Regions from separate parts of the Homo sapiens genome. Here region 1 is linked to region 2. Evidence: promoter capture Hi-C in human tissues and cell types (Jung and others, 2019). All regions are on one chromosome and are shown on one strand. Each heading gives the region's core, a stretch centred on a gene start or on the middle of the fragment in contact. The rest is flanking DNA. Distances are from core to core; before and after follow the strand shown. Region 1 overlaps VPS9D1 (VPS9 domain containing 1). Region 2 holds the start of GALNS (galactosamine (N-acetyl)-6-sulfatase).

Region 1 (2,700 bases), core at 167-2,666, 860 kb after region 2:
TCTTGTTGCCCAGGCTGGAGTGCAGTGGCACAATCTTCGCTCACTGCAACCTCCACCTTCCAGGATCAAGCGATTCTCCTGGACTCAGCCTCCTGAGTAGCTGGGATTACAGGTGCACACCACCACGGCCAGCTAATTTTTGTATTTTTAGTAAAGACGGGGTTTTACCATGTTGGCCAGGCTGGTCAGGAACTCCTGACCTCAGGTGATCTGCTCGCCTCGGCCTCCTACAGTGCTGGGATTACAGGCGTGAGCCACCAGGCCGCCTGCATTTGCTTGTGTCCGGCCAGGGGATATTCCCATTCTGGGACTCATTTTAAAAACATTCGCTGTCAGGCCAGGCGCAGTGGCTCATGCCTGTAATCCCAGCACTGTGGGGGCCGGGCGCGGTGACTCACGCTGTAATCCCAGCACTGTGGGAGGCCGAGGCAGGCGCATCACGAGGTCAGGAGATCGAAACCATCCTGGCTAACATGGCAAAACCCCGTCTCTACTAAAAATACAAAAAATTAGCTGGGTGTGGTGGTGGGCGCCTGTAGTCTCAGCTACTTGGGAGGCTGAGGCAGAAGAATGGTGTGAACCCGGGAGGTGGAGGTTGCCGTGAGCCAAGATTGAGCCGCTGCACTCCAGCCTGGGTGACAGAGTGAGACTCTGTCTCAAAAAACAAAAAAAAAATCGCTGTCATCAGCTCATCTTTCTCAGCCTCAAAAACCCAATCCCAGGCTCATCCCACCTCCCATCTTGTCCATCTTACTTCTTACAGCTTTGTGACTCTGCCCCCTGAAGCTTCTGGAAGATCTCGGGTGGCAGAAAAGGAGAGAGCTTTCCTCCTTCATCGGAGTATACACGGCGGTGTCGGCCGGCAGGCTGGGGAATGGGAGCAGCTGCAGGCATGGTTGGCTTCAGGCGTGTTTTCCCTGCAAGCCATGGGTAACCAGGGGTCAAGCGGTGGGCCACATCCCACAGAGGAGATGCGGGCTTGGGGGATGCCCCAGGAGAGCCGCCTACTGCAGGAGACCCACCAAGCTTGGCGGCCGTCGACTGGGCCCTCTCCAGACACTGCTGTGCTAGCTTCAGCATCTTGGAGGTGTCGGGGGGCACAGTTTCCCCAGCTTCTGGGGGAGGGACAAGAAGGCTGGTCACAGTCGGCTCTACCACTGTTACTTACTGCTGAGATAAAATGAGGCAACGGAAAAGGCAGGCAAGCCCACTGCCCCCCTCAGCACCCCCACTGACCCCGGGCAAGCCCACTGCCCCCCCATCCCCTCACTGACCCTGGGCAAGCCCACTGCCCCCCCATCCCCTCACCCCGGGTAAGCCCACTGCCCCTCCCGTCCCCCAACTGACTGACCCTAGGCAAGCCCACTGCCCCCCCATCCCCTCACCCCGGGTAAGCCCACTGCCCCTTCCACCCCCCACTGACCCCGGGCAAGCCGACTATTCCTCATGGACCCCAGGCAAGGCCCCTGCCCCCACCATGGACCCCAGGCAAGTCCCCCCACCCACGCATTTCTAATCATCTGCCCTGGTTTTGCCTCCTGAGTCTGCTAAGGCTGTGGGCCCCTCATCGAGGCCCGTCACAGCCTCGACCCTAAACAGGCCTTTAGTGCTCACTCAGCTTCACTTGCAACTGCAGGCCTCTGGGAAGTGGCCGTTTTACAGAGACAAGGACGTGCTGAGGGGATCGCCTCACCCATCTCCCACCGGCTGTGTCCCCAAAGTCCTGCCTTCCCGTAGCTTGGCATGGAGCACCTCTGCGCGACCATGGACCTGCTCACACAGCCCTTCTGCGCGCCGTGGGAGCTGCCTCTCTGTGACTCGCCCCTGGACCCACCGCCCCAGCGCCTGACCCACCTCCCTGCTGCCCTTCACAGAAAACTTCTCATAGACTCCCATTTTCTCATCCCGCCCCGATTTAGCCCCCGACTCCCCCCGGAAACTGCCCTTACCCGTCCCCACCTTGCCAGACACGGTGGGCCACTGGAGTTCCTCTGTCTTCTGGGACTTTGCTCTCCCCAGGGGATCCTCTGCCACTCCTCCACCCAACTCCTCAATCTTGGAGCGCCAGAGCTCAGCCGAGCTCACCGGCTCCCTAGGGAGCTGGGGCAACTGTTAGCTCCCCCTGACCTGTGTGATCCTACGTCCAGTGGCTGCCCCGACCTCTGTGATCCCACGTCCAGGGGCTCCCCCGACCTCTGTGATCCCACGTCCAGTGGCTCCCCCGACCTCTGTGCTCCCACGTCCAGTGGCTCCCCCGACCTCTGTGCTCCCACGTCCAGTGGCTCCCCCGACCTCTGTGCTCCCACGTCCAGTGGGTCCCCCTGACCTCTGTGATCCCACGTCCAGTGGCTCCCCCTGACCTCTGTGCTCTATGTCCAGTGGCTCCCCCTGACCTCTGTGATCCTTTGTGCAGCGGCTGCTGGCCTCTCAAACTTAATGTGTTCATTGCGGAACTTGCTATTCCTCTCCTTGCCAGTTTGCTCCTGCCCCATCTGCCTCCTGCAAGTCTGCTCTGTTCCACCTTCAGGACGCACCCCGAGGCCGTTTACTGCTCCCATCCTGGGTGGTCTGGCCACTGCCATCCTCAGTCCTCACCTGAGGCTCCACTCCCAGGCTGTCCTCTCCCTCAAAGCTCAAAGTCTCTTCAAGTTTCCCTGCACACCAGAACGGCCCCAGTTCCACCCAAGGCATGCACACAGC
Region 2 (2,772 bases), core at 68-2,567:
ATCTTTATGTTAAAAAACCATTAATTTAATAAAATTGTTAAGTGAGATATTTTACATTATTTTTCTTTCACCAAGTCTTCTAAATCTGTGTATTTTACACTACCAGCACCTTCCAATTCCGACAGCCACGACTGCCCAGCCCTTGGGTGTGGCCCGTGGCCCCCACTGGTCAGCACAGGTGGGTCTGAAGGCACCTGTCAGGGTCTCTGCTGGTCGGAGCCAGCACACAGGGGCTGAGCGACACCGACGGCCCAAAACTGTCTGGTACTCGGTGTCGTCCCAGTCCTCACACACAACGTGAGCACGGCGGGACAGGTGTAACCCCCCAGGTGTGGCAGCTGAGGTTCAAGAATGGAAGTGACCCCCAAGCTTGGAGACAGTAGGGTTTCAACCCAGGTGTGTCTGGGGTCCTGCACGGTGACCCATGCCCCAGGCAGGCTCATTCCTGAGTCTCCAGGTGGCTCCCACAAGGAGTTAGGGAAGGAGGCCTCCAGGCTGGCTGTGACCCCTGACCCCGCACTTGCCCACCAGGAGACATTCCAGCCTTTCAGTTCTTCAGACCTTAGGGACACCTGACCTTCGCTCAGCATTCTCCAGAGGACAGAGACAGCCGTCAGGTAAGACTGGAGCCCAGCGGGGGGACCCGGCGGCCCGAGGTGGCGGGAGTGATTCCTAGGGCGACGCAGCTCTCAGGCAGGGCGGCAGGAGCAGCCTCTTCCTCCCTTTGGGGAGGCCACGCTGCGCGCCCACCTTTCCCAAGAGTAGAGGGCGGGAAAGGTCAGACGGGGGAGGCAGGGCCCGGTAGCACGCCGGCCACCCACCTGCCAGGGAGGACGCTGTCCCGGTCATGCAGCACAGTGGCAGCGCGTGTGGTGATCGGTGACCGCCGAGACCCCACGCCTGGACCCCGCGGCCACTCCCCGAGGGGCCTCCCCCTCCCCGCACGGGGATACCCCCCGTCCCCTCCCCCTCCTCCTCCCCGCGCGGGGCCTCCCCCCTTCCCCAAGGGGCCTCCCCTCACCTCTCCCCCCACCCCGCCCGCCCTTCCCCCACCTCGCTCCTCCCTCCATCCGCCCCTCCCCTCCCCGCCCCACCCCGGCCCTGCCCCGTCCCACCGCCCGCACTCACGTCGTCCATGAGCAGGAGCAGGATGTTGGGGGGCTGCGGGGCGCCCGAGGCCCCCATCCCCGCGGCGCTGAGCACCAGCAACAGCTGCCACCACCTCGTCGCCGCGACAACCGCCGCCATGGCAACCACGGGAGCCGCGGAGCCCCGGCCAGCGAGCCGACCTAGCGAGCGTCCGCCGGCCCTTCCGGCTGGGCTGCGGGGCGGGGCCTGGACGGCCACGTGACTCGCGGGGCGGGGCCAGAGTCCGCGGAGGGACGGGAGGCGGGGCCTGGACTGCCTCGTGACCAGTGGGGCGGGGCCTGAGCCAGCTGTGTGCGGATGGGGCGGGGCTTTGGAGGCCGCGTGACCAGCGGCGGGTCACGTGACGCGGTGCCTGGCGCCGAGCCTCCCAAGATGGCGGTGTGCATCGCGGTGATTGCCAAGGAGGTGCGTACGCGCGGCGTGGGGCGTCCGGGCTCGCACCATCCTCGGCTCTCCGCTTTCTTTCTACTTCTTCCCTGGGCTTAGAAGGCACCTTAGGAAATGGGACCTGGAGGAGGCCTTCGCCGAGCTCCAGCGGTCAGGGGCTTCGCGGTGGACGAGCCGCCAGGCAGACCCTGACTGAGACCCCAGTTCCGCGCTCGCCCGTCCCGCTGCTGAACGCACCCCTCGGCGCAGCAGGTCTCCTCCCCGCCAGGACCCACCAGAAACCTAGGTGGTCCCGGGCACTACCTCCGTCCTCCGTCCTCAGCAGGTTCTGCCCGTTCTCCCGTCCAGCGCTGGTTCCCCGCGGACGGCGGCCCCGGCCCTCCTGCCAGTCTCCCCGGAGCCGAGTTAAAAACAAATCGGATCCTGTCACGCCTCTGCCTGAGACCTCTGCAGTGGCTTCTCGTTGCCTTAGGATGCTGTCTGAATAACCTGCTCTGGGATCCTTTCCCCCCATAACCCTTGGCACTCTCCGCTCCAACCAAACAATTCTGCAGCTCCCTGGACATGCTCTGCCCTCTCACCTGTGGGCCTTTGCACGCGGAACACCTCTCCCCAGCTCCCATCCTCTTTACTGGCCCACATACATTTCAACTGGAAAGCATTTTCTGAAGGCTAAGACTGAGCTGGGTGGCTGCCCACACGCTCCTGCTGCACGGAGCCTTCATTTCCTAGCCAGGGTCTCCCGAGACCAGACTCGAGACCGCTCCCTGCTGGGCGGTGGCTGCTGCTAAGCTGCTCATGGGCTTCCCTCTTGGCCAAGATGATCATTTGCTTGTTTGTGGGTTTATTGACTAGGTATCACTCCCCACGAGGGTAGCGAGGACTCTTGTTCACTGTATTTGTGCAGGACCCAGTGCTGAACACACACAGGGTAAATGGTGGTGTGTGAAAGACCGAGAAAGAAGCTGTTAATTCTGGGCTTCCAATGGTCAGAAATGCAGAGATGAAGGGAATTTGAGCTGAGTCTTGAAGGGTTTAGTAAAAGGGTCACTGTCAAGGTGAAGAAAAGCCAGTATTGAGGGTGCTGTATTTGGGTGAGCCATGCAGAGTTAGAGGTGGGCTGAGGCAGAGTGGCCTCCAGGAGAAGGTGAGAGGCGTGCCCAGGTGCCAGGCTTGATCGGCAGGCTGTGCTCAGGCCCATTTTTCTGATTCATTTTTTCTTTTCCGCCCACCCTA

Evidence for each region. Contacts are between HindIII fragments. The study calls those that stand out against the background at their distance.
Region 1: a fragment that was not itself captured here is called in contact with the fragment with the promoter of GALNS in region 2 in 1 of the 25 tissues and cell types used here (dorsolateral prefrontal cortex).

The regions. Positions count from the first base shown.
Region 1 is chr16:89,715,708-89,718,407 of GRCh38, forward strand. VPS9D1 (VPS9 domain containing 1) reads right to left here. Exons shown (of 15, transcript NM_004913.3): 3 at 1,023-1,115; 4 at 755-917. It overlaps VPS9D1-AS1 (VPS9D1 antisense RNA 1), which reads left to right. Exons shown (of 4, transcript NR_036480.1): 3 at 764-1,197; 4 at 1,637-2,458. Among named protein-coding and RNA genes, the nearest start is that of VPS9D1, 3.8 kb to the right of the region's middle. The HindIII fragment of the contact is 3,293 bases long and covers 1-2,700 here.
Region 2 is chr16:88,855,630-88,858,401 of GRCh38, forward strand. GALNS (galactosamine (N-acetyl)-6-sulfatase) reads right to left here and starts at 1,318. Exons shown (of 14, transcript NM_000512.5): 1 at 1,129-1,318. The coding sequence starts at 1,248. TRAPPC2L (trafficking protein particle complex subunit 2L) reads left to right here and starts at 1,498. Exons shown (of 5, transcript NM_001318525.2): 1 at 1,498-1,554. The coding sequence starts at 1,522. It overlaps LOC107983950 (a long non-coding RNA gene), which reads right to left and starts at 951. Exons shown (of 2, transcript XR_933884.3): 1 at 822-951; 2 at 1-672. RefSeq lists a silencer at 1,051-1,450. The HindIII fragment of the contact is 6,299 bases long and covers 1-2,772 here.